Regions from separate parts of the Homo sapiens genome. Here regions 2, 3, 4 and 5 are each linked to region 1. The links are contacts of gene promoters, found by promoter capture Hi-C in blood cells and fetal thymus (Javierre and others, 2016). All regions are on one chromosome and are shown on one strand. The core of a region is centred on a gene start or on the middle of the fragment in contact, and the rest is flanking DNA. Distances in the headings are between cores, read along the strand shown.

The links. The method cuts DNA at HindIII sites, captures the fragments that hold promoters and counts their contacts. A CHiCAGO score of 5 or more calls a contact.
Region 2: a fragment that was not itself captured here is called in contact with the fragment with the promoter of PIP4K2C in region 1 in 1 of 17 cell types (naive B cells); the score reaches 5.2 in naive B cells.
Region 3: a contact is called between a fragment that was not itself captured here and the fragment with the promoter of PIP4K2C in region 1, in 2 of 17 cell types (naive CD8 T cells and M2 macrophages). The highest score is 6.1, in naive CD8 T cells.
Region 4: a fragment that was not itself captured here is called in contact with the fragment with the promoter of PIP4K2C in region 1 in 4 of 17 cell types (naive B cells, M2 macrophages, erythroblasts and 1 more); the score reaches 5.6 in naive B cells.
Region 5: a contact is called between the fragment with the promoter of CYP27B1 here and the fragment with the promoter of PIP4K2C in region 1, in 4 of 17 cell types (naive CD8 T cells, total CD4 T cells, activated CD4 T cells and 1 more). The highest score is 7.0, in naive CD8 T cells.

The regions. Positions count from the first base shown.
Region 1 is chr12:57,588,079-57,594,443 of GRCh38, reverse strand. PIP4K2C (phosphatidylinositol-5-phosphate 4-kinase type 2 gamma) reads right to left here and starts at 3,252. Exons shown (of 10, transcript NM_024779.5): 1 at 2,981-3,252; 2 at 322-419. The coding sequence starts at 3,154. RefSeq lists a silencer at 3,155-3,414 and enhancers at 3,013-3,514, 3,595-3,644. The HindIII fragment of the contact is 11,010 bases long and covers 1-6,365 here.
Region 2 is chr12:57,838,609-57,844,973 of GRCh38, reverse strand. All of the region lies in intron 1 of CTDSP2 (CTD small phosphatase 2), which reads left to right. It overlaps CTDSP2-AS1 (CTDSP2 antisense RNA 1), which reads right to left. Exons shown (of 2, transcript NR_188077.1): 2 at 1,213-2,715. Among named protein-coding and RNA genes, the nearest start is that of CTDSP2-AS1, 4.7 kb to the right of the region's middle. The HindIII fragment of the contact is 239 bases long and covers 2,135-2,373 here.
Region 3 is chr12:57,396,463-57,402,827 of GRCh38, reverse strand. The region is part of intron 1 of R3HDM2 (R3H domain containing 2); the gene reads left to right. Among named protein-coding and RNA genes, the nearest start is that of R3HDM2, 31 kb to the left of the region's middle. The HindIII fragment of the contact is 1,559 bases long and covers 1,844-3,402 here.
Region 4 is chr12:57,784,190-57,790,554 of GRCh38, reverse strand. TSFM (Ts translation elongation factor, mitochondrial) reads right to left here. Exons shown (of 6, transcript NM_005726.6): 3 at 4,264-4,392; 4 at 3,393-3,515. Among named protein-coding and RNA genes, the nearest start is that of TSFM, 4.6 kb to the right of the region's middle. The HindIII fragment of the contact is 1,074 bases long and covers 3,139-4,212 here.
Region 5 is chr12:57,765,518-57,771,882 of GRCh38, reverse strand. It overlaps CYP27B1 (cytochrome P450 family 27 subfamily B member 1), which reads left to right and starts at 4,805. Exons shown (of 9, transcript NM_000785.4): 1 at 4,805-5,036; 2 at 5,686-5,876. The coding sequence starts at 4,842. It overlaps METTL1 (methyltransferase 1, tRNA methylguanosine), which reads left to right. Exons shown (of 6, transcript NM_005371.6): 2 at 626-789; 3 at 1,927-2,111; 4 at 2,205-2,318; 5 at 2,479-2,580; 6 at 2,732-3,412. The coding sequence ends at 2,887. RefSeq lists enhancers at 1-34, 1-919. The HindIII fragment of the contact is 11,205 bases long and covers 3,922-6,365 here.

The sequences.
Region 1 (6,365 bases), core at 2,003-4,502:
AAGTTTTTCTTTCAAGGAGTCCCTGTCAGAAGCTAATGGTTCTCATGGCATCTCCAAGGTCACAAGCAGAAAAAGAGAGAAAGAGCAGGTAATGGTATCTGTACATATTTACTCTATGGAATTGCCAGGCTAGAGGAGAGATAACACTGATTCATATAAGGATATAGGGAACACCAGAAATTATTCTCATGGTTTCCTTGCACAAAACTAATTTCTGCATTTGGGAAGGATGTTAAATTTTCAACTCACTGAAACTTTTAAAATTATTTATTACTCCTTTCTGGGAAGGTTGACATGAGAATGGCAAGGATCATCACTTACCTGTGGAAAAGGTGATTGTTGACCTTGATCTTGGAGCTGGCCTTAAAGTCATCTGGCAGCAGCATCACCGGGGGAGGCACCTGGCTGAGCTCATTGATCTGATAAGCCAAACCATGAATAGGGAAGCCATGAAGAAGGGTGTGGAGAGCTACCCATACACTGTGTCTGGGCAGCAGTCATGCAAGGGCCACTCAGACCTCATTCCTTTAAAAACACTGGCTATGCATATGCTTGACAGAAGTGAGAGAATGTGTCTAACCCTTCTGCTGCCCAAGAAGGACTACAGTAAGCAACCCTCACACACAGCCCCCAACACGCCCACCCCCATGGAACTTCATGCTCACAACAGTCATTTTATATTAGGCTAACCCTGTAAGCAACTCAGGACTATTTTTAAAGCTGTGAGAAATTCTAGAAAAAAAAAAAAAAAAAAAAAAAAAAAAAAAACTCTGCAAGCTCAAGGCAGCTACATGTTCCATTAGAAAAAGAAAAAAAAAGGCATTTTAAAAATGCACAAGAGTGTTAATGGGATTCTGTGGGGCCAACCACAGCAAAAAGGATAAATGTCCATATCCTGCAAAAGGCATCTCTTTGCAAACAGGACCAGTCTTCCTAGACCACTCTGACCCAGTTGTTTGCAGTAGGCCCCCACCTGTCTAAGGTGTAAGGTAAAGGAAGAGCAGCTGATTTCAGAGCGAATGCAGGCAATCAGAGGATATGAGCTCATTAGGCGTCTGTTCCCTAAAGCCAAACTAATCCACAGCCCAAAGGACACAAGCATCACATGCTCTCCTCGGCCCCCAGGATCTGCAGTCTGCTAATTCAGGGTAGAAAGGGAGCTCTAGTACTTAAAAATCCTGAGCCGTGCTTTCTCCTTGGTGTTGCTACAGTACCTTTCACCTGCCTTTGTTACTGCATGACTCTAATCACTAGTTTATGTAAGTTCTCCCATCTAGATTGTGAGCTCTTCAAGAACAAGGGCTCATTCTAGTCGTCTGCATCTTTCAGGTGTCTAACTAGCACAATGTTTGGCACACAGTGATCCTGACATGTCTATTAATTGAATAAATGAATGCCTTGCCTATCCTTACTAGATCATTCCACAGAGGCTATGAACTGCAGTCTAACCTAAATCACACACACTGCAGTGCAACCAACTCCTCCCGTTCTCAGTAGAAAAGGAGGACAGAACATATCCCTCCAGATTAAAAAAAAAAAAAAAGCCACTTGAGACTCCCAGCCTAAAATTCAGCTATAGCTCCTCCTGCCCCCTCCTCCCCACCTGCTAAGCAAGCTGAATCATCACTAAGACATATGTTCAAGGAATTTCTCCATTCCAAACACTTGAAGTAGATGTGTGTTGGCAGAGGGTGGGGTGCTGGGGCTAAAGTATATATACCTAGTGAAGCTGAGGTAGGTCTTACATGTAACTCCCCCAATCCTTAACAAGGGAAAACCCTCCCTGTTAAGCATCCCACAGGGAATGGATGAATCACCTGGAAGGTACATATGAGAGGCAGCCCTACCTCCATCAGCCTTCCCCATACCAAGTGCCTTCCACTGAATACTCACTAAGAGCTTACCACCCAGAGAGCCACAAATCCAAAAGAGATCCGACTGGCCACAAACAACATTCTTAATTTTTGGTTAAGAAATTCTTTACCACAAATTAAAAATGTGACAAAACGCGTATTCTTCCTCACAACTTCCATCTCCACAGCCTAGCCATGACTATATTCAAGAACGCTGATTTCGAAAATATTCCGTGTCACATTCAAGATAACTGCATTTCTCCCACTCCAGACCTGACGGAAGATGGGCAATGGCTGTGCTTCTTTCAGCTGAGGTATCCTCAGGAAAGGGGATGGAGGTCTCCTTGGCCTCCTCCTGACTCCCAGAGCAGTTTCCTGCTTCAAAAGTTCACCACCATAGTGACCTCAGGAACAGAGCCCCTCAGCCTTCTCTTTGGTCAACAATCGCCACCACCTACACCAAACACGATCGCTCTAGCCAGCGATAAGGATGCAGTTAAGACCAAAGGCATATATACATAAGTCCTGAGAGTGTGCAACTTCTAGCTCAGGGTGGGGTAGCTTCTCTAAAATGCTGTACCTCTGGAAGGGAAAGGAAGGGACAAGCAGGATTAGAAAGCCCAGGAAACCTGGAGCTTCCCCGAGACAAAACCAAGATTCAAAAGCCAAGGACCGGGGCTGGGAAGCAAGGTGGAAAGCAAAGTGAAAGAACCTTTTCATCCATCTACTCCCCTCGGCCCCTCACCCTCCACCTACACTCTCACCAACAACCACCCGAGAAAAAGCCACTCCCCCTAATGTCCTCCCCGCTTGCGCCCGGTCCTGGCCAGTCCGCGTAGCCTGAGGCTGAAGCTAGACATGGCAGGAAGGAGTCAAAGCACAGGGAGCTGGATTTCACGGGGGGAAGGTGGAACTAGAGTGGAGCAGTAAAGAACTGTTGGGGAGAAAAAAGTCCACAGTCAGAAAACCTGCTGGGGGAACACCTGGGGTTGGTGGGCAGGGACCAAGACAACCCGGGGGAGGGGAGTGGCACTGCGTGGGGCTCCGGAGGCTGGAGCCTGGAAACAGGGACGCCTCGGAGCCGAGGGGTTTGGACAGGGCTGCGGGGGTCTAGGGCTGGTTCTCACCGAGTGGGCTACGCCCCACAGGAACACACCCACCAGCGGGTCGGCCGCCCGGAACACCTTCACCTTCTGCTGCACGAAATGCTTCTTCTTGGTCTTGGAGGCGAAGCCGAAACCTGGGCCGGGGCCTGCTGTCGCCGCCGATACCGTGGCTGGTGGGACCGAGGAGGACGCCATAGTCTCCCGCGCAACCGACCAAGTGGAAGCCGGAGCCGGCAGCTATCCAGGCGCCCGACCCCGGAAGCGGCGCTCACCTGCGCTGCTGTCACGTGACCGGAGGCCGGACAGCGGACGCGCGAACAGGGCGAGGCAGGACGGGGCGGGGCGACGCTGGCCCCGCCCCCCGGCGCCTGCCTGCCTGCCCCAATGTCCGCTCAGTGTGTGGGCTCACCTGGCGTGCGGGATCCCTGTAAGCTGACGAAGCAAGCGGCCCGCGAGGCCCCTCGAACTGTCAACTAGGAGACCGTGGTGCGGCCTGGGCTGGCCTGATTGACTCCCAAGGTCTAGGGCTTCTTTGCTGCAAAGTGGCCGCCTTCCGGCTTTGCCCAGTTTCTAATGAGTAACCTCGGACCTGATGCTAATGCGAAAGCATTCTTACCGAATGGGGGTTGGGAAGGGGAGGGTTTTGGAAACCCAAAATTCTTACCAGTGGTCTCAAGCGTCTTGAAATTCATTCATTCATTTAACAAGTATTTATTGTGCACTTAGTTGTACTAGGTCCTGTTCTAGGGGCTGATTTTCCTTTTATTGAAGCAGGGTATAGGACAGTGACTGCCCCGAAGTAGTTGGGAGTCTAATGGCACTGGCTGGCCAATGGAGATCAAGTTTGCAGTATGCAAAGTATGAGCTATCCTAGAACTGTGTATGAAGCAAAGACAATGATACAAAGAAAGGAAGTGTAGCTGGTCAGGGAAGGCTTCAAAGAGGATAGAGACTTTACTGAGTTTGGAAGGGTGGGTGGAGTTCAGGAATAGAGGTTAAAAGGCTGTCTAGACAAAGAGAACAGCATACAAAGACATGGAGACAAGAAAGAACGAAGCCGGGCGCGGTGACTCACGCCTGTAATCCCAGCACTTTGGGAGGCCGAGGCGGGAGGATCACCTGAGGTTGGGAGTTCAAGACCAGCCTGGCCAACATGGTGAAACCTCGTCTCTACAAAAATACAAAAATTAGCCGGGCATTAGCCGGGCGTGGTGGCGTGAGCCTGTAATCCCAGCTACTCAGGAGGCTGAGGCAGGAGAATCACTTGAACCCAGGAGGCGGAGGTAGCAGTGAGCCGAGATCACGCCAAGCAGAGATCACGCCAAGCAGAGATCACGCCACTGCACTCCAGCCTGGGTGACAGAGTGAGACTCCATCTCAAAAAAAAAAAAAAAAAAGCCGGGCATGTTGGCAGGTGCCTGTAGTCCCAGCTACTTGAGAGGCTGAGGCAGGAGAATCGCTTGAACCCAGGAGGCAGAGGTTGCAGTGAGCCCAGATCATGCCATTGCACTCCAGCCTGGGCGACAGAGCAAGACTCTGTCTCAAAAAAAAAAAAAAAAAAAAAAAGCCAGATGCGGTAGCTCACGCCTATAATCCCAGCACTTTGCGGGGCCGAGTCGGGAGGATCACCTGAGGTCAGGAGTTGTGGGCAAAGGATTACCCAGGTGCCAAGGCAAGAGACTGAAGGCACAAACTGTTGCAGTATAATAAAGAAAATAGTTAGAATAAAGAGTAGTTACAATACAAATTAGATATAGAGATGATCATGGACAATTATCAATCATCAGTATAAACATTATAAATCATTAGCTTTTAATATTACTCTTTGTGGCATTACTAATATAACCTAGGAATAACCGGCAGGTATAGGGTCAGGTGCTGAAGGGACATTGTGAGAAGTGACCTAGAAGGCAAGAAGTGAGCCCTCTGTCACGCCCGCATAAGGGCCATTTGAGGGCTCCCTGGTCAAGCGGTAACACCAGTGCCTGGGAAGGCACCTGTTGCTTAGCGGACCGCGAAAGGGAGTCTCCCTTTCCGTGGAGGAGTCAGGGAACACTCTGCTCCACCAGCTTCTTGTGGGAGGCTGGATATTATCTAGGCCTGCCTGCAGTCATCCAGAGGCCTAAACCCCTCCCTTTGGTGCTGTGCTTCAGTGGTCACGCTCCTTGTCCACTTTCATGTTCCTCCTGTACTCCTGGTTCCTCTTTGAAGTTCTTAGTAGATAGCGGTAGAAGAAATAGTGAAAATCTTAGTCTTTGATCTTTCTTATAAGTGCATAGAAGAAAATGCTGACGTATGCTGCCTTCCCTCTCTGCTTTGGCTACCTAAAAGGGAAGGGACCCCTATCCCATGATCACGTGATTTGCTTGACCTTATCAATCACTTGGACAACTCACCCCTCCTTACCCTGCCCCTTGTCTTGTATTCAATAAATACCAGTGCGCCTAGCCATTAGGGGCCACTATCGGTCTCCGCGTCTTGGTGGCAGTGGTCCCCAGGCCTAGCTGTTTTCTCTTTATCTCTTTGTCTTGTGTCTTTATTTCTTACAATCTCTCGTCTCCGCACACAGGGAGAACACCCGCTAAGCCCAGTAGGTCTGGACCCTACAAGGAGTTCGAGACCAGCTTGACCAACATGGTGAAACCCCATCTCAACTAAAAATACAAAATTTAGCCGGGCGTGGTGGCGCACACCTGTAATCCCAGCTACTCAGGAGGCTGAGGCAGGAGAATCGCTTGAACTGGGGGAGGGGGGGTGCCAAGGTTGCAGTGAGCCGAGATCCTGCCACTGCACTCCAGCGTGGGCAACAGAGCAAGACTCCATCTCAAAAAAAAAAAAAAAAGGATCACTCAGGCATGTTCCTGGAGGATGACTTGAGTATTGCAAAAGTTCAGGGAGAGATAATGAACTAAAGCAGTGGCTGTTGTGTTTGAAAGAAGAGGGTGGCATCTAAAGATGCAGTTTGATGTCAACTTGGAAAATTCATATGAATGTGGGGATTGAAGGAAAAGGGAGGCATTGAGAGTGAGTCTAAGGCTTCTGGCTAATGATGATGATGATATCAGAGAGATGATGGTGACATGAAAAGGAGCAGATTCAGAGGAAGGTGAGTTCGGTTTGGAACATGTTTGAGGCATCTGAGGTCAGCTGGACACATGCTCCCGCAGCTGAGCAGAATGTTCTGGACTGGGGATACGGATTGAAGAATTGTGGAATCTGCAGGCATGGATGACATGTCTTAGAAAGAGCAAGGAAGGAACCAAGGGCTGAGCCCTGGGATAGAGCAGCATTTAAGAGGCCTGGGGAGGAAGACTCGGAAGGGTGGCCAGGGAAGTACAGGGAGCCAAGACAGCAGGGTCACAAAAGCCAAGGGGAGTTGAGTTTCAAGAAGGAAGGAGTGAAGAAG
Region 2 (6,365 bases), core at 1,005-3,504, 250 kb before region 1:
TGAGTTGGTGGTGTCAGCCTCTCCCAAATTCCCTCAGTGGAACGAGAGGAGCTGGGAGGGGGGAAGGGTGGGGGGAGGGAGGCAGTGTGTTCCTCTTGCATCACTGGCCGGACTTTAAATAAGCCTGCCCTGAGAAGGGATGGCCTTGCCTACTCAGATCCCAACCCCCGAGAAGGCTCCGGCCTCCCTGACCTCGGTGTTGCCATGATTTCTGCTCTCCTGGCTGCATCACTAACCAGGCTGTGACCCAGGCAGCAACTTCACCGCCTCTGCTGGCTGCTCAACTGTGCTGATGGCTGAAAAAGGAAGGGAGCCTGCGTGTGTTTATAGCTCACTCCTGACTCTTCCCACTCCCTTTTTATCCCAGGAAAAGACCCTAAGAGCTAGCCAGAGGGGAAGAAACCTAGATGTGGGGGGATTCAAGAGGGGGCAGTGGTGATGAGTAGGGGGAGGAGCCCTGTGCTTCCCCACTAGGTCTTCCTCTCTTGCAGGGACTCTCTTGCAGGGAGTGTGCCTTGGGCATCGTGGGGCCACGCGAGGAGTAAGGGAAAGCTGGACTGCGCCGGGGCATCTTAGAAATCAGAGCTGGAAGTTTCATCCACCAGGGTGAATGGCAGGCTACAGAATAGATAACAGCAGAAAGCAAAGCAACTGGCTTGACAGTGTTAAGTTGCTGGTGTTGGATTTTCTTGGAGTTAATGTTTCTCCTTTTTTGTGTGTGTGGTTTAAGCCAGCAGCCACTGGGTCTCTCCCTCCCCATGTAATTTTTTATTTTAATTGAGATGGAGTCTTACTCTGTTGCCCAGGCTAGAGTGCAGTGGCGCAATCTCAGCTCACTGCAACCTCCGCCTCCTAAATTCAAGCAATTCTCCTGCCTCAGCCTCCCAAGTAGCTGGGATTACAGGCGCGCGCCATCACGCTTGGCTAATTTTTTTGTATTTTTTAGTAGAGACAGGGGTTTCGCCAGTTGCCCAGGCTGGTCTCGACTCCTGAGGTGATCAGCCCCCTTCGGCCTCCCAAAGTGCTGGGATTACAGGCGTGAGCCACCGCGCCCGGCCCCTCCCCATGTAATTTGATTGCATTCCAGAGAAGACAGACTTTCTTCCTGGGCTGCTTAGGCACCCAGCAACCACTAAACCAACTTTCTGAGTCCCACATCATTTACAAACAAAACCTACGTCTTCAAAACAAAACAAAAAACAAAAGCTGGGGGACTGGGGAAGCAGATGTTTTAATTGGCTCCTTTTGGAGTTCCTTCTTCTCCCCACTCCGTCCTCTCCACAACATCCCATCTCCATGCCTTGCCTGCCTTTGGAAAAAGGGGAAGAAGGAGTGTGAGGTACTTATTATTAATAAGTAAATTTCTGGAAAGAAACAAATTGCTCCTAGCTTGGGTGGCTATTTAGTGAAGTTACTTGCCATTGCGGGTTTTTTTTTTCTTTTTTTAGCATTCTGTTCTCTGAGGTTTAAGGCTGTCTGGGTGCGTTGATGATTCAAAAGTAATTACAGTAGGGGAAGTAGAACAAAGTTGCTGAAAGCATTGATGATAAAAGCACCAAAATTGGATCATCTTCCCAGACAGATGGGTGAAATGGCTTTCTGGTACAGCAAGGACAGGATTGTGTGTAACATCAAAAAGAAAAAAGAAATGTTAATATCAGCTTGGCAAGAATGGCTGTTGATTGCAGCTCTATATGAGATTGTCACCCCATTGCTAAGAGGTTGTGACCTTGGCTTTGGGATTAGATGGGGGAAAGCCAAGGAAACAAGACCCACGCTGTAACCTCCCAACGTGAAATGAGACCTGGTGGAGGCAGCCTCTTCCGGAGCTCAGTGACCCACACGCCTTTTGGAGGAATCAGAGATTTTTTTGTTGTCCATGAATCCTGATGCCCCTTCCTCTCGATGATGCCCTGGATTACCTTCTCACATGCCGAACTGGACAGGTTCTGATAGCTAATTGCAAGGATTCTTCTGAGAGACTGACCATCTCTGAAAATTACGATGTGGCAAGTTTTCAGGATGGCTAGCTCTTTTGTTATCCGCATAAGGGAGAAATTCTGCCTTATTCCCTCAAAAAGTTGTTCAGACACCGTTCACTGTAGATGTAGGCAAGCCTTTAACTTGAAAAGCTTAGACATGAATCTTGCTGGAGCTTCCTTCCATAGCTTGCTATGCAGGGGGCGGGAAGCCTGCATGTTTATAGCTGGCTCCTCCTCCTGCCCTGCTGGTGCCTCTCACCTTCCTTTGCCTACCCTGGGTCTTGGCCTCTTTGTGCTCTCACAGTGACTGCTGAGGCTCCCTCCTGCATCTCCTTTGGAGTTTTTCCCCCATCTTTGGGTAAGGGTTGCAGCCTGCGTGGTGACTTAAGCTTGTGTTTGCTCCTGTCCCCAAAATTGCAGAGGAGCGCTGATAAATCAGCAACAAAGTTTGTAAATGCCTAACATCTGGGGCTGGGGGTTTGCAGTTGACTTGCAGAGCTTTCCACTGAGCAGCACTGGAATTGCTGTGAAAAATCCCTCGGAGGATGGCAGAGGTGGGGGTGTTCCTTTGTCCTCTCTTCTCAACCGTAGAGGTCTTAAAGAAACTGGGTAGCAGAGAGGTGTCATTTCATCCTTTCCATGGGACCTTCCAAATCCCTTATCATGGATTTTGTTAAAATGGTAAATACTAAAGAAGTCACATTTCTAGCCAACGTGAATTGATGCTCCCAACCTGTGAAGAATTAAAGTGTTTGTAAATAAGCATGGAAAAGAAAGACAATATGTAAATATATATGGGATTGTGTGTATGTGTGTACATATCAATACATAGCTTCCCTTCCAATTCCTCCTACAATTTTTTTTTTCTGCTAGCTTTTGGGTAATTTGGGGTATTGTCTTTTATTCCCATCATGGTAAGTTTGGTTCTTAGATTGGACAGAGTGGGGACCAGGGTCAGGGATGGTGGTTAAAGTTTACATTGTTACTTCAAAGCATTGTTTCTGAAGCAAAATTGCTTCAGGCCTGGGTTCAAATACCTTCTTTTCCTATTTGCAATGAGACTTGATAAATCACTTTAGTATTCTGAGTAACTTATCTATAAAGTAGTAATAATGATATCTACCCTTCTATTATACTTGGTACTTAGTAGGTGCTTGATAAATATTAATGTCCTCCCTCTTTACATAGTTAGACTACTCTGTTCGCCCTCCTCCATTCCCCCAAGGACACAGTGTAAACAGCACGTAGTCTTGTGGGTTTTATTTTTCAAGACAGGTGGCCGGGGGTCAGAGGGGACACTGATTGTGGGGGCTTGGGCCTTCTGGAAGGATCAACCTCTTAGGCTTACAAACAGCCTTGCTGCACAGACCCCTTCTTTGTGTCATGTGACTTGGGATGTGATTTGTTATCTGCCTGGGCTGTGGGACTTTGGCCATTCTGTCTGGTGCCTGGGCATCTGGGGGTGGGAGAAGGCCAGGCATGTGCCCCCTGTGAGTCTCTAAAGTCTAAACTTCCTTAGAGGTTCTCAAATATGGATATAACGAATATTCAGGACAACTGTATGCTACATTCTCTCACTGTCTGCTTTGAGAGTTAATGAATTCAGAGAGATTGAGGTTTCTTTTAGGTAATTTTAATAAGAGGGGGAAAAAGAAAATGGGGTTTGAAGAGAAATAGATGTTCTTAAGCTATTTGTTTGCTCCTGTGGTTTTGGGGTACAACATTGAGAAAGTACAAAAGCAGCATTGATCTGCTTTTCATCTTGTCTTAGTCTGGCCAGCTCTGGGAAGCATGGAATTAACTCGCTTGTCTTTGGGACGTGGGATTGGGTGTGGCCCTGACATATTTCCCTCACTTTTCTGAAATGGAGTAGTAGTTCTGAACTGGGATGCAGATGAGCACATTAACACGCAAATCTTACAAAGAAAGTACTAGAAATTAAAGTGGATAAGTTGACGACTTAAAACTGGAAGCATCTCTGGACCAGAGACCAAATAGAATGGAGTTTCTTTGTCTGGCAAAATGCCCAGCCCTTCAGGTCTGAGTATGCCTGCACCAGGATCTGTTATCACAGGGTACTCCAGTGAGCGCCACAGCCTCCCTCTAGGCAAAAGTGTGTATGCCCTGTTTTATGTTAGCTATTCTAGGAGTTAGCCTTGAACCTGATCTCTGAGTGGATCTGACATTTCCATTTCCCTCCTAGGTGCTCTAGTCCTTCCCCCACCCCCATCCCCCCAAATCAGACTTTGCTCTTACTCTCTTTTTATTCTATACCTTCTTTTATTTCTTGCCACAGCTTTTTCCATCCTCTTGAATTTGCACTTTCCCATCTGCATTGTTCCCAGGGAACAAATATGGCCCCAATCCCAGTGAGAGCCAAGCAGACTCATGGAAAGGCTCAAATTGCCTGCGGAAGGCTTCCTGGATAGTAGATCCCAGCTTTTCTGTTCCCGCAGCAGAATAGAGCTAGGACCCCTCTTTCACAGGAACAGGGGCCTGCAGGTAGAGACAGCAGACCCAGGTTTTCTGACTCACGTCACATAGAACTACCCCTAGAGAAGAAAACTGGATCCTAGGCATGAGTCCTCTAAGGCTTGCAGAAACACTGAGCCAGTCAGGTACGGTGGGGAGAGGGGCCAAGGGGACTTTGGCTGAATTGCCTTCTAGCCCTGGGTTAGTCAGAGACCCTGGCAACCGGTAGATACTGGCTCTCAGCCAGGGACACACATCAGAGTCTCCTGTGACACTTGCTAAAAATACAGACCCCCCACCTGGGATCTGCTGAATCAGCGCATGGGCAGGTGGGTCAGGCATGCATGTGTTCCAAATGCTCCTTGTGGCTCTGACAGGTGCCCCTGGAGAAGAGCCAGGTAGGCACAGCAGTGGCCCCAACTGCCTGTTTTGCCCCGAGCAGGAAAATTCCTCTTGGTGGTCCCGTTTTACTGTATGTTAAAGATCTGTGGCTCTTCAAGGGGAGTCCTAAAGTTTTCAGAGTAAATGGACAGAGTAATGATCCATCCTTGTTTACCCAGTAATGGTTACAGCCAATATTTATAGAGTACTTGCCATAGGCAAGGTACTATTCCTAGCATTTTATATCTCGTATCTCACTTAGTTCTCCTGACAACTTTTCCTTTCCAATAAGAGGAATTAACCTCACTTTACAGATAAGGAAAACTTTCACAGGGAGAGGGAAGGACTTTGCCCAAGGGTACATGGCTAGTGTCAGCCAGACATTTGCATTGTCTGGCATTTCACTTTTTTTTTTGAGATGGAGTCTTGCTCTGTCGCCCAGGCTGGAGTGCAGTGGCGCGATCTCGATCTCAGCTCACTGCAAGCTCCACCTCCTGGGTCTATGCCATTCTCCTGGCTCAGCCTCCTGAGTAGCTGGGACTACAGGCGCCCGCCACCACGCCCGGCTAATTTTTTGTATTTTTAGTAGAGACGCGGTTTCACTGTGTTAGCCAGGATGGTCTTGATCTCCTGACCTCATGATCCGCCCGCCTTGGCCTCCCAAAGTGCTGGGATTACAGGCTTGAGCCACCGTGCCCGGCCTAACATTTCACCTTTTAGAGTGCTTTTGAGTTCATGATTCAGGTGCATGCTTCAGGTGAAGCCACCTTTTAAGGGACCATGCAGGGGAAACCTTTCCAGATTGGCTTATGAGGAAACTGAACCCCAGAGAATTGTGCCCTAGCAAGGCCACGGAACTGTTGAAAAGCTGAACTGGAGCAAGAGCTGGGTTTCCTGACTTCTAGATCAGTACTTTCTCAAGTGGACTCACCTATACGGCTTGGCTGGTCATAGGTGAAGCTGAGGGGTGTGGGGGGAGCAGCAGAATGTCCCTGGAGATGGGTGCCTCCCTGGCAGACTCCTTCCATTCCTTCTGCAGAGGCCAGCCATATGAAGGAGGAACTGGTTGGCCAGCCTCAATGAGTGTGTATGTGTGTGTGCGACTGATTCGTTTTTGTGGAGTCCCGGAAAACATCATTTCCGGTTTGGCCCTGTTACTACCTCTGAAATGAGTTAGAAGAAATCTCTATGGTCCCTTTAATGTGAACATTTTGAGATGGAGACTGAGGTAAGAGTATGAAAGTACTTTGCACTTAATGAGTAGCAGTTGACACTTACAAAGCTTTTGTTAGGACCAGGACACTCCCTGAGCTCCCTGCAATTCTGACACTGAGAAATAGGTAGTCTTCCCATTTTGCAGATGAAGAAACTGAGGCCCATGGCTGCATACCTTACACATGGCAGAGCCTAGATTCGAACTCAAGTCTGGGTGCCTTGTGTCACCACTGTATTTTTCCCTGGTCAGAACAGATACCCTTGCTTTGTCCTGTGTCCTCACTGCTTTCTCCAGCTCACGTTTGTATCAACCTA
Region 3 (6,365 bases), core at 1,374-3,873, 190 kb after region 1:
CCCAGCATTTTGGGAGGCCAAGGCAGGTGGATCACTTGAGGCCAGGAGTTTTTTTTTGGAGACAGAGTCCTGCTTTGTTGCCCAGACTGGAGGACAGTGCTGTGATCTCAGCTCACTGCAGCCTCTGCCTCCCGGGTTGAAGTGATTCTCCCGCCTCAGCCTCCCGAGTAGCTGAGATTTACAAGCGCCTGCCACCACGCCTGGCTAATTTTTGTATTTTTAGTAGAGATGGGGTTTCGCCATTTTGGTCAGGCTGGGAGGCCAGGAGTTTGAGACCAGCCTGGCCAACATGGTGAAACTCCAACTCTACTAAAAATATAAAAATTAGCTGGACATGGTGGTGCATGGCTATTTGGGAGGCTGAGGTATGAGAATTTCTTGAACCCAGGAGGTGGAGGTTGCAATGAGCTGAAATGGCGTCACTGCACTCCAGCCTGAGCGACAGAGTGAGACTCTTATCTCCAAAAACATTTCCTTATTTTTGTTTATGCATGCAGAGTATTGTGGGATATGTATGCACTTTTTTTTTTTTTGAGATGGAGTCTTGCTCTCTTGCCCAGGCTGGAGTGCAGTGGTGGGACTTCAGCTCACTGCAACCTCTGCCTCTCGGATTCAGGAGATTCTCCTGCCTCAGTCTCCTGAGTAGCTGGGATTACAGGCGCCTGTCACCATGTCTGGCTAATTTTTGTATTTTTAGTAGAGATGGGGTTTCACCATGTTGGCCAGGATGGTCTCTAACTCCTGACTTCAGAAGATCTACCTGCCACGGCCTCCCAAAGCGCTGGGATAACAGGTGTAAGCCACTGTGTCTGGCTTGTGCATGCACTTTTTCTTTTATTTTTTTGACACAGAGTCTTGCTTTGTTGCCCAGGCTGGAATGCAGCAGCTCGATCTTGGCTCACTGCAACCTCCACCTCCCGGGTCTAAGTGATCTCCTGCCTCAGCCTCCCGAGTAGCTGGGACTACAGGTGCCTGCCACCACACCCAGCTAATTTTTGTATTTTTAGTAGAGGCAGGGGTTTCACCATGTTGGCCAGGCTGGTCTCGAACTCCTGACCCCAAATGATCCACCTACCTTGGCCTCCCAAAATTCTGGGATTACAGGCATGAGCCACTGTGCCTGGCAGAATAGTCTTTAAGTATTGAGAAACTGTCAAGCTCATCATAGTGATTACATGATTTTCAAAATTCTGATTTTCACTTGAGAGCTCGATTTTTATCATTCGTAATAAATCTATTTTGTTCAATGGTCAGCTGCATTCTTTGTTTATGATTTAAGTGGGCTGGCAATTTGAGCAAGACTCTGTCACAGTTTGCCTCTATTCCACATGGTTTTGGCTGGGCTCACTCATTTGTGTTCAGTTGGCACGTTAGCTAGGGGCTGGTTGGACCTGGATAGCCTCATTCACATGTCTAGCATTGGGCTAGAGCTGTCCTCTAGGTTGGTATGGCCTCTTGCAGGCTGGCTTGGCTTCTTTGCATGATGGTTAGGTTCCAAGAGGTTTTGAGTGGAAACTGAACGGCCTCTTGAGGCCTGGGCTCGGTGGTCGCAGTGTCATTCATGCTGCACTCTGATGGTTGAAGCAAGTCACAAGGCCAGCTCATATTCAAGGGGTGGGGAAATGAACTACACTCTTTTTTTTTTTTGAGACGAACTGCACTTCTTTATGGGAATTGTTACACATAACTGTGGCCATGTTAAACATGGGCATAGTTCTTTATTATTCCTCTTTTTCTCCTTCCCTTTCTCTCTTTCATTCTTTTTAAATGAAATGGATGTTTTCTGCTTGTTTTTATTGCCCTGACTTGTCTTTCTTTTTGAAGTTCATGTTAGAACAAAGCTTACTTACTTAAATATTTCTGTGATTATTTGGTGTGGCTGGGGACTGATATTTTCAGGTCCCAGCTTAGCAACTATTTTTCAGATTACCGTAATAATACCAAACATCTGTTAATGCTGAAAAGCTATTGTTTCTTCCCCAGGTGATTTTGATCTCTTTGAAAAATTGGCAATTTCTGAGGGTTAACACTCTGGTCCTTTTATGGGCTCTGTTTCCAGCCCTTTATGGCTTGTTAGTTATAGAGAGTTACTAATATTGACCTGAAATATACATATGTATTTTGTTGTTGCTAGTTGCTCCATGAAGTCAGAGAGGGAAGGGCTCTGCTGCAGGAGCAGAAGGTGTCTGGATGGTAGTTGTCTTGAGTAGACAGTGTTTATTGTTTTTTTTTAATATATATTTTTATTATACTTTAAGTTCTAGGGTACATGTGCACAACGTGCGGGTTTGTTATATATGTATACATGTGCCATGATGGTGTGCTGCACCCATTAACTCGTCATTTACGTTAGGTATATCTCCTAATGCTATCCCTCCCCCTTCCCCCCACCCCACAACAGGCCCCGGTGTGTGATGTTCCCCTTCCTGTGTCCAAGTGTTCTCATTGTTCAATTCCCACCTATGAGTGAGAACATGCGGTGTTTGGTGTTTTGTCCTTGCGATAGTTTGCTGAGAATGATGGTTTCCAGCTTCATCGATGTCCTTACAAAGGACATGAACTCATCATTTTTTTATGGCTGCATAGTATTCCATGGTGTATATGTGCCACATTTTCTTAATCCAGTCTATCATTGTTGGACATTTGGGTTGGTTCCAAGTCTTTGCTATTGTGAATGGTGCCACAATAAACATACATGTCCATGTGTCTTTATAGCAGCATGATTTATAATCCTTTGGGTATATACCCAGTAATGGGATGGCTGGGTCAAATGGTATTTCTAGTTCTAGATCCCTGAGGAATCGCCACACTGGAGTAGACAGTGTTTTTATATGTGAAATAAACAAGATTCTTTGGCAAGTCAGTGACTTGTCAGTCCATCAGGATGAATCAGCGGAAGTCCTAGGTGAGGTGAGAATGTCAGCACAGTGAGCCCCTTGCCCTGAGTTTATCGGGCATCCCATTAAGGTAGCTGTCATAGCTCCTATTTTAGAGAAGAGTAGGAGTCATTGTTCAAGATTTAGCTTACTTTAAAAACTTTCAGGGGGGAAGGTCACTTTTAGTATAATGACACCATTAGAAGTGGCATGTGGCTGTTTTTCAGATTACAGCCATTTTGGTGTGCCCAAGTGTTACCAGTTGTTAGGATCTTTAAAACTTGTCTTCAGGTGACTAGAGGCTATGCTGCTTCTCCAAGTAAGTTTTATTAATTGTCTTGGGTCCTAGACAAGTTAACTGTAGTTTCTGACTTATCTATTGCCTAAACCTGTGATAATTTGATAGAAATAGGAACTAAGAGGTGGCATTTTATTGCAAAAGATGGATGTTGGCTGCTAAATACAGCTGATTAGAAGGCTAGGACAAAGTGTCTGTTTTTCTGGTGACGGGGTCATTATTAAAGCTTTATTTTATTTTATTTTATTTTTTGAGACAGAGTCTCACTCTGTTGCCCAGGCTGAAGTGCAGTGGCATGATCTCAGCTCACTGCAACCTCCACCTCTCGGGTTCAAGCAATTCTGCTGCCTCAGTCTCCCGAGAAGCTGAGATTACAGGTGCACGCCACCATGCCCCGCTAATTTTTGTATTTTTAGTAGAGACGGTGTTTCACCACGCCAGCCAGGCTGGTCTCAAACTCCTGACCTCCTGATCCACCCACCTCGGCCTCCCAAAGTGCTGGGATTACAAGTGTGAGCCACCGTGCCTGGCCTAAAGGTTTATAGAACGCTTCAGTAGTCAGATGGCTGAGTTCAGCTCCTTTCCACTCCTGTGAAGTTATCTTTAAGACATTTGGAATCCTTCATAGAAGTCTTATCAGCAGTGATTCTCTTATAGGTGTTTGCTACTTGGGTCAATTTAGCCTAAATGGTTCTAAGCTGTGAAGCACTCTTCAATGCTATGCTGGTAGCCAGATCTTTGACAATTGCTGCTGCCTCAGAAGATTGGATTTGGGCCCCACAGAGGCAGAGAACAGTTAACTGCCAGATATGACTGCCATCTTATTTTCCAAGTGTAAATTTTACCTTCTGAGAAAGGAAGAGAGGGCTGGGTGCGGTGGCTCACGCCTCTAATCCCAGCACTTTGGGAGGCTGAGGTGGGCGGATCACTTGAGGTCAGGAGTTTGAGACCAGCCTGACTAACATGGTGAAACTTTGTCGGTACTAAAAATACAAAAATTAGCCGGGCATGGTGGCGGGCACCTGTAATCCCACCTACTTGGGAGGTTGAGGCAGGAGAATGGCTTGAACCCAGGAGGTGGAGGTTGCAGTGAGCCGAGATCACGCCACTGCACTCCAGCCTGTGTGACGGAGTAAGACTCCATCTCAAAAAAAAAAAAGAGAGAGAAAGGAAGAGAGATTTCTGAGGATACAAGGCAGATTGTTAGAATGAAGAAAAGAACAAGGTTTTGACAGTTTGGCCATTTTATTGGCTATACAAATAAGTTTTAAACACCTTAAGAAACCCAAGTTTACCTCAGAGGAAGTAACTTCTTAGCTTTGTAAATGCACCAAACAATTAGAAAACTGTTTCAGTGCTTATCATGTGTCAGACACTGTTTAGAATTGCAGGTACAGATACGAACAAGGTAATAAAATATTTCTTTTTCTTTTTCTTTTTTTTTTTTTGAGGCAGAGTCTCGCTCTTTTGCCTAGGCTGCTGGAGTGAAGTGGCATGATTTCGGCTCATTACAACCTCTGCCCCTCTCCCCTGCCCACCCCCACCACCAGTTTCAAGCGATTTCCTGCTTCAGCCTCCTGAGTAGCTGGAATTACAGGTGCCCACCACCATGCCCAGCTAATTTTTGTATTTTTAGTAGAGACGGGGTTTCACTGTGTTGGCCAGGCTGGTCTCGAACTCCTGAGCTCGTGATTCGCCCGCCTTAGCCTCCCAAAGTGCTGGGATTATAGGCGTGAGCCACTGTGCCCGGCCCACAGTATTTCACTTTTAATTATGATATGATTACAATTAGGGCAAGAAAGTCAAAATTATGTTGCTCTTGATTCTCTTAATCAGAATTAGAGAGTGAACTCTTGGTGTGACAAAGCTCTTAGTGTGAACCCACTGTGCCCACTTAAAAATTAGATGTATCTGGGAATGGCTTGAGTGCCAATGGGGAAAGGAAACTAGTAAATATTTTGCATAGGGGGGAACAAGGTATTACATGGGAAAAAGTTTACCACAGGAGGAGTGTTTTAGGACCAGCACTAGTGGTGAAAAGGGGAAAGGCAATATCCTCTGGCCATTCCTTCGCAACTTTAGCCAACTACTCCACATTCCTAATGTCAAAACCGTGATGTGCAGGGGCTATAAAAAAAAACTAGAACTTTTTCATAGAAACCTTTGTTAAGATATCAAGAGGGCAGACTTTCATGATGTGGTATTTGTGGAACAGGGTTATATAAAACAAAATGGTGAGTTAGGGATATTCTCACTTTAGCATAGAACACAGTAGGGCTTGGGTGTTTTGAAGGCTTCCAAGAATACAGACTGACTTGGGCATATTAAGGGTTCCAATGGTGGCCTCCTGAAATAGATTAAACAGCCAGCCCTCAGGGTCTTGTAATAATAATAACTACTGCTTTTAGGGTGAAGAGATACTAAATTATGTACTTGTAATGCCTACTTATATTCACAGAATAAAATTCTGCCTCTGGCCTCTTTTTGCTTCTACTTCTCATCTATTAAGAGAGATCCTAGTTTTGTTTGCTCAGTTCTAGACAATTTTTTTTTTTTCTTTGAGATGGAGTTTTGCTCTTGCTGCCCAGGCTGGAGTGCAATGGTGTGATCTTGGCTCACTGCAATTTCTGTCTCCTGGGTTCAAGCCATTCTCCTCCCTCAGCCTCCCAAGTAGCTGAGATTACAGGTACATGCCACCTTGCCCAGCTAATTTTTTGTATTTTTAGTAGAGATGGTGTTTCACCATATTGGCCAGGCTGATCTCGAACTTTTAACAGTAGGTGATCCACCTGCTTTGGCCTCCCAAAGTAAAGTGCTGGGGTTACAGGTGTGAGCCACCATGCGCAGCCTAGACTACTCTTTTTTTTTTTTTTTTTGAGACAGAGTCTCACTCTGTCACCCAGCCTGGAGTGCAGTGGCATGATCTCAGCTCACTGCACCCTCTGCCTCCTGGGTTCAAGCAATTCTCTGGCTCAGCCTTCTGAGTAGCTGCGATTACAGGCGCCCGCCAACACACTTGGCTAATTTTTGTGTTTTTTCAGTAGAGACGGGGTTTCACCATCTTTGCCAGGCTGGTCTTGAACTCCTGACCTCGTGATCCACCTGCCTGGGCCTCCCAAAGTGCTGGGATTACAGGCGTGCGCCACTGTGCCCAGCCTAGACTACTCTTTTTTATTTTTTTATTTTTTATT
Region 4 (6,365 bases), core at 2,426-4,925, 200 kb before region 1:
GGTAGCAATTCTGAAACAATTTTGTATATATATTGTAACACTTAGTACATATGAGTACATAACTAAAAACAGTAAACATATTGAAGTTGCTATGAAAAAGGAAGGATTGAACCACACGCACACAGCACATACACCTGCACTGTCTGCTCGAAGAACAAATGACATCTCAGTAGAAATCAGCACACCTGGCCAGGCGCAGTGGTTCACGCCTGTAATCCCAGCACTTTGGGAGGCCAAGATGGGTGGATCACGAGGTCAGGAGTTCAAGACCAGCCTGCCCAACATGGTGAAACCCTGTCTCTACTGAAAATACAAAAATTAGCTGGGTATGGTGGCACGTGCCTGTAATCCCAGCTACTCGGGAGGCTGAGGCAGGAGAACTGCTTGAACCGGGACCCAGGAGGCAGAGGTAGCAGCGAGCCAAGATCGCGCCACTGCACTCCAGCCTGGGCTACACAGCAACACTCTGTCTCAAAAAAAAAAAAAAAAAAAAAGAAAGAAAGAAATCAGCACACCTAACATTCAAATCTTGATTTCTAAAAACCATTCCCCAACTAAAAAGGACCAGGACTCCTTGAAGAAGTGGCCCATTCCACAGTTGGGGAAAGGAAAGTATGACATAAACCCAAAAGATAAGAATAAACAAAAAAGCCAAAAAGTAAGAAAATACTCAGAAAATAATAAGGGCATATCAAAGGACATTACAGTCAGCTTGCATTGATCAAATCCGCAGATAATTTGAGCATCAAAACGAATAATGAGTTATAACTTATTGTATAAAATAAGAACCCACGAGTCAATGTTAGTGCTGAATAAATCACTAAATAAAAATGAGAAGGGAAATTTATTTCTAACAGTAGAATGACAACTACTAAAACTAACACATTTTGGCTGGGTGCGGTGGCTCACGCCTGTAATCCCAGCACTCTGGGAGGCCAAGGCGGGCAGATCACCTGAGGTCAGGAGTGCGAGACCAGCCTGACCAACATGGCAAAACCCCATTTCTACTAAAAACACAAAAAAATTAGCTGGAAGTAGTAATGCATGCCTATAATCCTAGCTACTCAGGAGGCTGAAGCATAAGAATTGCTCGAACCCAGGAGGTGAAGGTTGCAGTGAGCTGAGATCACAACACTGCACTCCGTCTCAAAGAAAAAAAAATCCTAAATGTGATCACTGTCCTGTGGTTATATAACAATGTCCTTGTTTTTACGAGATACATGCTGAAGGAATAAAGGATCCTGATGTCTGCAACATACTTACAAAAAGATTTTTTTTAAACAGTGATGATGACCGGGTGCAGTGGCTCACGCCTGTAATCCCAGCACTTTGGGAGGCCCAGGTGGGCAGATCACCTGAGGTCAGGAGTCAAGACCAGCCTGGCCAACATGGTGAAACTCCCGTCTCTACAAAAATACAAAAAAAATTAGCCGGGCATGATGGCAGGTGCCTGTAATCCCAGCTACTTGGGAGGCTGAGGTGGAAGAATCGCTTGAACTGGGAGGGAGAGGTTGCAGTGAGCGAGATGGCACCATTGCACTCCAGCCTGGGTGACAGAGAGACTCCATCTCAAAAAAAAAAAAAAAAAAGGGCGATGATAACATGTATATAAAAAGTGATAGGGCCAGCTGTAGTGACCCAAGCCTATAATCCCAACACTTTGGGAGGCCAAAGCAGGTGGATTTCTTGAGCCCAGAGGTTTGAGACCAGCCTGGGCAAGATGGCAAGACTGTCTCTACAAAAAACTTAAAAATGAGCCTAGCATAGTGGTGTGCACATGTAGTCCCAGCTACTCAGGAGTCTGAGGTGGGAAGATCACTTGAGCCCAGGAATTTGAGGCAGCAGTGAACAATGATTGTGCCACTGCACTCCAGGCTGGGCAAGAAAGCCAGATCTGTCTCTTAAAGAAAAAAAGAAGTGATAAAGCAAATACAGCAAAATGTTAATAAATGGCAAATCTGGAAAAAGAGTACACTGGGGCCAGGCATGGTGGCTCACGCCTGTAATCCCAGCACTTTGGGAGGCGGAGGCGGGCGAATCACTTGAGGTCAGGAGTTCAAGACCAGCCTGGCCAACATGGTGAAACTCTGTCTTTACAAAAAATACAAATACTAGGCGTGTGTGGTGGCGGGCGCCTGTAGTCCCAGCTACTCGGGAGTCTGATGCAGAATTGCTTGAACCCAGGAGGTGGAGGTTGCAGTGAGCCAAGATTGCACCACTGCACTCCAGCCTGAGTGACAGAGCAAGACTTCATCTCAAAAAACAAAAACAAAAATAAAAAAAAAAAGGGTACACTGGTGTTTACTGGCAAAATCAAAGCTAAAATTTCTAGTTCAAGTGACTTACCTACTCAATACAATTAAAAAAAATAATCTCAACATTGTTTTCCATATGACTATGTAATGCCAATAATAATTAACATTTACCAAGACATCTCAAGAGAAGGATAAAGAAGATAAAAAAAGTTGGTAATAAACTCAAAAAAATTACTGTGAGTGGTTGGTTCATCTTTGCCTTGGCAATAAGGCTGAGTCAAAGGCAGAATGACATAATTCCTTTCCTTGATCCCTCTATGGATAAGAATATGCTTATTTTCCTAAACCATGTCTTTTCCAATCTCTCTCTCTTTTTTTTTTTCTGAGACGGAGTTTTGCTCTTATTGCCCGGGGGGAGTACAACGGCTCACTGCAGCCTCTACCTCCCGGGTTCAAGCGATTCTCCTGCTTCAACTTCCCAAGTAGCTGGGATTACAGGCAAGCGCCACCACGCCCAGCTAATTTTGTATTTTTAGTAGAGACGGGTTTCTCCATGTTGGTCAGGCTGGTCTTGAACTCTCGACTTCAGGTGATCTGCCTGCCTCGGCCTCCCAAAGTGCTGGGATTACAGGGGTGAGCCACCACACCTGGCTCCAATCTCTTTATTTAGAAATTCTTTCCTAAGACCATTCCAAATTTCTGAACACAAAGCCTCAAATGGCTTCACTTGATCTGGCTAACTCCATTTCACTGGCATGCATGCATTCAATCATTCATTCATTCATCTGACAAAGATTTACTGAGCTCCAACTAAGTAGTGGGCCCAATTCTCTTTCACCAGAGATACAACAGTGAAAAGACAAATTCCCTGCCTCATAAAGCTTACATTCTGCTGGGGAAGATAGACAACACACAGATAAATTAAAATGTAATATATAAGCACCATAATAAAAAATTTTAAATGCAGCATGACACGGGGATATAGCAACGGGGGAAGGGTAATTCTATGCAAAGAGATAGCATTTAAGCAGAGATGTGAAGTAACAGAATGAGACATGAGAATGTCTACAATAGGAACAGCAAAAGACCCAATGAGGACAGCAAATTCAGCACACTGGAGACAAATCCCAAACTTACTTTACTGTATGCAGAGGGTTGATCCTTTAGGGTCTGACAATGCATCATGGTTCCAAGGGCTACTTGCTGGACCAACAGTTGAAATTTTAAATTTCTAGAAACAAAATCTGTCTCACAGTTTACCTGTGGGAACAAATTGATATAGCTGTATAAGCTGTTTAATGATAATTTCCAAAAGTGCCTTAAGGCTGGAGAATAAATCAAGATACTGATAGAACAAGCTACAGACTCAACGGAAAAAAAATGACTCCAAAATTTTAAAGCTACGCTTCCTCTCCTAGCCTGGAACAGAATGAAGTGATTTATGTTGGGCCAGTGAGTTAGCAATAGCCTGTATATTCAGAAGATGGTTCAATAATGTCCTGAAGGACTCACCACAAGTTCACCACTTACCTATGTCTGCACACCATCATCACCTCATTCTCCAGCCATCCCAACTCCAAACCACTTATGCTATTATCTTGTTTATCCCCATCTCTCACTCTAAACTAATCCACATCTGACTCTTCACCAATTATGGCCCCCAAACCTCCTCTAAAATACCTACTCTCTATTCAGCAACAATTAATATAATTAACTTGTAATCTAACTGTTCCAGGAAACAATCAGTGACAAGGTGTAAGCCTGTGCCAGACTCACATTCAGGAGTAATATTCTAGACTGTCAGGCCATTTCTCATCAACACACCAGTACATTTCTATACTTAAACGAATTCGTAACTAATACCCAGGGTTTCATGAGTTTAACTTCAACTACGCTTTATGGTTCTTAAACAGATCTCTTCTTCAAGAACAGGCCCCTTTAGGGCCTACTACAAGCTTTACACCCAAGGGACAGCTGTTCTTGGTATCTGGAATTTCCAACAACTCACCTCTACTAATACAGTTGTGTTTCCTTCCTGCAACAGCCCAATCAGGCCTTCTTTGGTCTTCCTCCCTTGGAGCTTGGCAGCTTTGCTCCAGCCCTCCTTCTGGGCCTCCTTGTGGAGCCAGATCTCTGCCTGTAAATTGAGAGGAAAAAGAGCAGACAACAAAGTCACAGAATTTAGCACTAAATGTAGTTCTAAGATATACTCAGGTTTCCTGATTCTCTAAATTCTCTAACAGAAACTAAAGTAATCTATCATTTACTGGCAGTCTACCACTAAATGCCAAATACCAGGTATTATTATAACTGGTGCCTTGGATGAATCTAATCTTCACAACAACCCTATGGGGCACACAGTTGTATTTTCTTTATACAGTTACGCACCACATAACGATATTTTGGACAATGACGGACTGCATATATGATGACGGTCCCTAAGATTATAATGGAGCTGAAAAATTCCTATTGTCTAGTGACACGGTAGTCCTCCTAACATTGTAGGGCAACATATTACCTACATGTTTGTGGCAATGCTAGTGTAAAGAAAACGTCTGTGCTGCCAGTCCTATTAAAGTATAGCACATACAATTACATATAGTACATGATACTTGAAACAATAATGAACAACTATGTTACTGGCTTATGTATTTACTATAATACATATGCTTTATTGTTATTTTAGAGTGTACTCCAACTTATAAACTACTCGGGTGGCTGAATTTCTTGAACCCGGGAGGCGGAGGTTGCAGTGAACCAAGATCTATCGCGCCACTGCACTCCAGCCTGGGTGACAAAGTGAGACTCCGTCTCAAAAAAATAAAAAATAAAAAAATTTAACAGTAAAACAGCTTCAGGCAGGTCCTTCAAGAGGTATTCCAGAAAAAAACATTGTTATCATAGGAGATGACAGGTCCATGCCCGTTACTGCCCCTGAAGACCTTCCAGCAGGACAAGATGTGAAAGTGGAACACAGTGTTAATGATGATGCCACTCCTGTGTAGGCCTAGGCTAATGTATGTGTTTGTGTCTCCGTTTTTAACAAAACAATTTTTTAACTTAAAAAAAGTTTTGGCCAGGCGCTGTGGCTCACGCCTGTAATCCCGACACTTTGGGAGGCTGAGGTGGGCGGATCACAAGGTCAGGAGATCGAGACCATCCTGGCTAACACGGTGAAACCCTGTCTCTACTAAAAATACAAAAAATTAGCCGGGCGTGGTGGCGGGCGCCTGTAGTCCCAGCTACTCAGGAGGCTGAGGCAGGAGAATGGTGTGAACCTGGGAGGTGGAGCTTGCAGTGAGCCAAGATTGTGCCACTGCAGTCCAGCCTGGGGGACAGAGTAAGACTCTGTCTCAAAAAAAAAAAAAAAAAAAAAAAAAAAAGATATTTCAATAAAAAAAGTTGTTGTTTTTTTTTTTGAGACAGAGTTTCACTCTTATTGCCCAGGCTGGAGTGCAATGGCACGATCTCGGCTCACCACAACCTCCGCCTTTTGGGTTCAAGAGATTATCCTACCTCAGCCTCCCGAGTAGCTGGGATTACAGGCCCTTGCCACCACACCAGGCTAATTTTATTTTTTTTTAGTAGAGACGAGGTTTCTCCGTGTGGGTCAGGCTAGTCTCGAACTCGCAACCTCAGGTGATCCGCTTGCCTCAGCCTCCCAAAGTTCTGAGATTACAGGCATGAGCCACCACGCCCAGCCAAAAAAAGTTTAAAATTTTAAAAACAGAAAAAAGCTCACAGAAAAAGTGCATAAAGAAAAATATTTTGGTACAGCTGTACAATATGTGTTTTATGCTGTTATTACAAAAGAGTCCAAAAATTTAAAACATGTTAAAAGTTTATAAAATAAAAATGTTACATTAAACTAAGGTTAACTTATTATCACAGAAAAAAATTTCTTATAAATGTAATGTAGCTTATGTGTACTGTGCTTTAACGTCTACTATAGTGCACCATAGTGTCCTAAGGCAGGCCTTCATATTCACTCACCACTCACTGACTCACCCAGAGCAACTTCCAGTCCTGCAAGCTCCATACATGATAAGTTCCCTATGGAGATGTATCGTTTTTTATCTTTTATGCCTATTTACTGTACTTTTTCTATGT
Region 5 (6,365 bases), core at 3,556-6,055, 180 kb before region 1:
TAGACCCGGGAGGATCAGATGGGTGACGTCAGTTTTTGGGGGTGGGACCGGGAGATTCGACCGAGAGAGGAGTTGGCGGGTTGAGAGTGGGCGTGGCGTTCGGGCCTAAGTCTGGGTAGCGGTGCTAAGTTTGGGAAGAGAAATAAATTGTTACTGAGACTGAAGTGATAGAGGCAGAATGTCGTTTCCATCTTTTGCTTTTGTTTGTTGGATTTAATAAAAAGGCAAACATATACACAATCCTGCCCGCACCTTACCTTACCTTCCCTCCCCGCAGAGCACAAACACAAAGTAGGATCCCAGTGCATTAGGCAGCCAGTCTCGGGAGAAGGGGAACTTGTGCCCCAGAAAGGGCAGTTACCCGGCCAGGGTCACATCAACCGCCAGAAGTGGAGTTGGGCAGGTCAGCGTTTATGGGCCTCATGATGGTCCTATGATTCACACTGGGAGTTAAGGGTGGTTTCCATTGTCCCTCTTAGAGGCCACAGGGCCCAGTGTTACAGAATTTTTGAGAAACCCTCCTCCCTTTTACCTCCCACCCTCACCCACCCACACACTCTCACAGTACCACTTCTGCAATGGTGTGACCAACCTTCTCATGCTTCTTATGTCTTCTTTCCAATAGCCCTGTGAAGCCAGAGGAGATGGACTGGTCTGAGCTATACCCAGAGTTCTTCGCTCCACTCACTCAAAATCAGAGCCACGATGACCCAAAGGATAAGAAAGAAAAGAGAGCTCAGGCCCAAGTGGAGTTTGCAGACATAGGCTGTGGCTATGGTGGCCTGTTAGGTAACACTCAGGCCCTCTTTTTGGGGTGAGAAGAGGCCTAGTAGCTTCTGCTGCCTCAGCAACTTTTGTGGGGGGTCATAATTGGCCTTTCCCCTTTCGTCCAGACACTGGTGACATCAGCATGGAGAGGCTCCACCTACCCTCTACTCTGGGTCTGTGACCTTTGCCCTGGAGAGTGGAGGGGGCTGCCTCAAATGCTTCTTAAAACCTGGGTTGTCCTTTCTGGCGTCAATCCCTACATGAGCCATTTCATCTGCCAGGTTCCGGGTCAGTGAGCTGGTCAGCACAAGCATCAGAGATTAGCCGTTGTGGCCAGTGATCCTGAACTGTCTTTTCTCAGAGATTCTACCATCTCCCCTCCCCTTTGCCCCTCCCTCGCCAGATCTCATTCCTTCTGCCCCACTCTCCTGTTTTTTGGGTTCCTCTTGTATTGTCTGTATTGTCCCACCCATGCATGCCAAGCCACTCCCTATTTTTAGATCTTCCCAAACAGATAACAGCCTGATAGAGAAGAAGAGCATGGTACATAGAGGCAGAAAACCTTGGTTTAAGGTCCAGTTCTGCCTGGGCACAGTGGCTCACACCTGTAATCCCAACACTTTGGGAGGCTGAGGCAGGTGGACCACTTGAGGCCAGGAGTTCAAGACCAGCTACTCAGGAGGCTGAGGCAGGAGAATTACTTGAACCTGGGAGGCAGAGATTGCAGTGAGCCAAGATTGTGCCACTGCACTCCAGCCTGGGTGACAGAGCAAGACTCCATCTCAAATAAATAAGTTCCAGTTCTGCCCCTTCTTAACTCTATGATCTTCGGCATATCTGACCCTCAGTTTCCTTATCTTCACAATTTACCACAGAGTGTTATAAGGATGAAATAACACAATGTGTGAAAACACTGTGGAAAACTCTAAAGCAATGGCAAATATACATGTATCCTCAGCCCTCCCATTCTGGTCCTGGTGACAATTTTCATTTCTCCCCCCGCCTCTTGAGCATAAAACTATCCATATATGTATCTCTGTCCTCTCTTGCCGTTCTGGACTTTGGTAGTTGCAGGTTGAGGCTTCCTTTCCTGTGTTGACCCCTTTGCACTTCCTACAAGTATATGGTTGATGATTCCATTGCTATTTCTGTGTGCAGTGGAACTGTCACCGCTGTTCCCAGACACACTTATTCTGGGTCTGGAGATCCGGGTGAAGGTCTCAGACTATGTACAAGACCGGATTCGGGCCCTACGCGCAGCTCCTGCAGGTGGCTTCCAGAACATCGCCTGTCTCCGTAGCAATGCCATGAAGCACCTTCCTAACTTCTTCTACAAGGGCCAGGTGGGGAGGGGCCCTGGTGGGTTAGGCTGGTAGGCAGGTGGGGGCATGGAGGCCAGGCTCTCACAACCCTGTTGGTGTGTGTCTGTCTCACAGCTGACAAAGATGTTCTTCCTCTTCCCCGACCCACATTTCAAGCGGACAAAGCACAAGTGGCGAATCATCAGTCCCACCCTGCTAGCAGAATATGCCTACGTGCTAAGAGTTGGGGTGAGTTGGGATCGGAGGGATGATGGGGTGAGTGGCCTACTCAGGGGCCCTTCACTAAGAATTCAGTGGGGGTGCATTTAGGGACTCACACCACCACTTCCTTCATCTGGCTGCTGACGTTGCATGCAGCCTCCTGTCTAGGGTGATTTTGCCTATGCAGGGGCTGGTGTATACCATAACCGATGTGCTGGAGCTACACGACTGGATGTGCACTCATTTCGAAGAGCACCCACTGTTTGAGCGTGTGCCTCTGGAGGACCTGGTGAGTAGGGGACCTAGAGGAGGTGGAGGCCCTTTCCAGAGTGGTTCTGTATTTGGACTTAACTCAGTGCCAGGAGGATGGGATAGGTGTCTAAGGGCCAGGGGCAGTCTGAACAGTGGGCAAGGACTTATTGGACCCTTCCTTCTCCCAGAGTGAAGACCCCGTTGTGGGACATCTAGGCACCTCAACTGAGGAGGGGAAGAAAGTTCTACGTAATGGAGGGAAGAATTTCCCAGCCATCTTCCGAAGAATACAAGATCCCGTCCTCCAGGCAGTGACCTCCCAAACCAGCCTGCCTGGTCACTGACTGCTTACTCTACCTTAGCTGGACCTCGTCTCCCAGGGATTAGAGAAAAGAGCAGGAGTCCTGGGTCTTCCCAGTTGAGACTGCTGGAGCTGAGACACAGTACTCTCTTAAAGAAGGTGGGGAGCTGCCCAGGGCAGAACCCACTGGTGTTCATGACTACCCCTGGCTCCTCTCACCTTGTCCCTCCACTGCCAACAGAAAACAAAGCAGCTGACTGAGATGGTCAAAGGACTTTGGACCATAGGGGATCTTTGGAAGGCTGTGGGGTCTTGCTCTTCCTTAGCACTCCTTTCTCCTTGTGAGATCTCTCCTCAGCTGGAATGAGGAATGTAGTCCATCTAAACTGCTTGCTAGGCTCAATTACCACTTCTGTTTGCTTTGTGGATCCTGGGATAACATGTATATGTGTACACATGCCTATTCTGCCATTTCTCAGGAAAGGGTGGAGTATGTATCATATGCCTTCTACCATCCTCCTGTCCTCTCCCTGCGTAAGACTTGACCTGGGGAATCTGTGTTCCCTAAGTGTTGTCTCTGGAGAGTCCTTGGGAAGGTGTGGGGGTGGAGACCCTCTCCTTTTTCACATTGACCTTCAATTCCAGAACTTCAGAGCTAGCTGACTGGCACAGAGCCTGATAGAGTTGCAGTGGGGAATGAGGGAGTAAGGAGCAGAGAGGTAAACTGTGGGAGATTCTTTTATTTTAATTTTTTTTAGAGACAGGCCCTCTCTCTGTTGCCTAGGCTGGAGTGCAGTGGTACAATCATAACTCACTGCAGCCTTGACCTCCCGGGCTCATGTAATCCACCTCAGCCTCTCAAGGCACTACAGGCATACGCCACCATGCCTGGCTAATTTTTGTATTTTTTGTAGAGACAGTTCCACTATGTTGCCCAGGCTGGTCTCAGACTCCTGAGCTCAAGCAGTCTGCCCACCTTAGCCTCCCAAAGTGTTGGGATTACAGTCATGAGCTGCCGTGCCCAGCCTAATTTTTAAACTTCTTCTGTAGAGACAGTCTTGCTATGTTGCTCAAGCTTGTCTCAACCTCCTGGCCTCATGCCATCCTCCTGCCTCAGCCTCCCAAAGTGCTGGGATTATAGGCATGAGCCACCACAGGATTCTGAGGCTAAAAGTAGAAAGGAGCTGCTAACCAGAAAGCCCCCCAGAGGAGACCGAGTCAGCTGGGGAATTAGAACATCCACATCCATTTAGCTCCTCTAACACCCCACAGACAATCTCTGAACTTAACTAATGTACAAAAAGTTTCATTTCTGCTTCTCAAGCCCCAAATTCCCATGTCTGGAAGGAGGGGGCTTGTATACCCAAGAGACCCCCTTATCCTCAAGAAAGAAAGATGGAGGTTCTAGGAGCCATTTTAGCCCATTAACCCACCTGCCATCTGCCCAGTATATGTTAGGTACAGGAGGAGGGGGAGGTGTGGCTAGTGCAGGAAAATAATGCAGAGAAGATACAACCCACTAAGCCAAGAATGTGGGGACAGTTACAGCTGTGCCTCCCCTGCTTCCCTTCCTGGAGGAGCTGAAAGATGGGGAATTCCTGAGGATGGGCCTAAAGGGGCTGGGCTCACTGGTAGAAGTGGGAATATCAGAGACTGACTAGTGTAGCTTGGTCACCTAGTCCCTACTAAAAAGCCTTATAGCCTTTCCTAGGATGAGACTTTGAGGCTCCTAGACAAAGGCACTCTCCCAGGAGGAAAATCTTAGGCCCTCCCTCCCATGAGGGTCATTGCAACATGAGACCCAAGGGAGTTGTGAAGTCAGCCCCAGCCCCGCCTACTGTTCCTGGGTGCTAATCCCCAGCACAGACCACTCAGGAGGAGGGATTGGCTGAGGAGCTTGGAGAGGGGGCGTCATCACCTCACCCAAAGGTTAAATAGGGGTTGAGATATGATGCTCAGGAGAAGCGCTTTCTTTCGCGAGCACCCTGAACCAGACCATGACCCAGACCCTCAAGTACGCCTCCAGAGTGTTCCATCGCGTCCGCTGGGCGCCCGAGTTGGGCGCCTCCCTAGGCTACCGAGAGTACCACTCAGCACGCCGGAGCTTGGCAGACATCCCAGGCCCCTCTACGCCCAGCTTTCTGGCCGAACTTTTCTGCAAGGGGGGGCTGTCGAGGCTACACGAGCTGCAGGTAGGAAGGGACGCCTTTCCCGAGACAGAGTGCTGGGGAAACTGGTTTTGACAGCGTCAGAAAGGACTGACTAGTGCAGAGCAAATGTGGGACAGCCAGAGAGAACGGATGCCCATGAAATAAGGAAAAGGCGAGTTGAGGCTGGGGGCGGTGTGGCTACACTCGGGCAGAGCCCGTCCCGACTCTTAGCAGAGGGCGCTGCGAAAGCGCCTTCTCGCTGTCCTGAGGTGTGGAGATCCTGCAGATAAAGTACAAGTGCGCGGGAGGGGGAGGCCGGAGTGGGCAGTACCCTCCGCCTGCTTGCGGCTTAAAGCTACATGGGTTCCTTTTCATTCACTGAGGACTCGTCCTGAGATGGACAGTCCAGACATGGAACTTTTAGAGATTTCTCCTCGACCGAGATGATCAGAGAGGTCCTGAATGTCTGCCTTGCACAAAGTTCCGGTTTTGCCCATCACACTCAAACTTTCTAGGGATGGGAAATGAGAGAGGAGGAGTTTGCAGTATCAAAGGCATACACTAGTTGGGCACCCGAGAAAGAGCAGAAGCTCCCTATTCCCAAGCCCAGTCAACGCCCTTGGCGTGGGCACAGGTCAAGCTGAAAGTCCCCGCCCAGGTATCCAAGTGTCCGCTGTGTCCGCTCCCCCAGGTGCAGGGCGCCGCGCACTTCGGGCCGGTGTGGCTAGCCAGCTTTGGGACAGTGCGCACCGTGTACGTGGCTGCCCCTGCACTCGTCGAGGAGCTGCTGCGACAGGAGGGACCCCGGCCCGAGCGCTGCAGCTTCTCGCCCTGGACGGAGCACCGCCGCTGCCGCCAGCGGGCTTGCGGACTGCTCACTGCGTGAGTCTTCTCTGCCCCCAGAAGCCCAGACGCCCTGCAGCGGCCCTCTCCTGCTGCGGGTCCCGAAACTATCAATCTGGGGGCATGGTGGGAGGTCGGCTGTCCCACTCTACCATTGGGCATCTTGGGGTTCCCATCCCAGTCTGCTTCACCCACACTCAGGTTGAGCCCCAACCTCACTCCCCGCCTACCTCCTTATCCTTTGAGGCCCGAATCCTGGGAACTGGGGGAACCGGAGGAATTGGGCTAGGGTACAAGGATCTGGATGGAATGAATGTAAGGTTCTGTGACTCAAGTTACCCGGGAACCCCGGCCCCTGAGGGCAGGAAATGAGTAAAGAGGAAGGGGGCTGGAAGACAGGCGCAGGCCGGTGCAGGTTTCCGTACCCCAAGGGGGCAGACGCAATCCCTCTCCTGGCCACCGCAGCCGAACGCGCTCCTTCACTGCAGCCAGTCCCGTCGAGCCGTCCCCACCTTCCCGATGCGCACT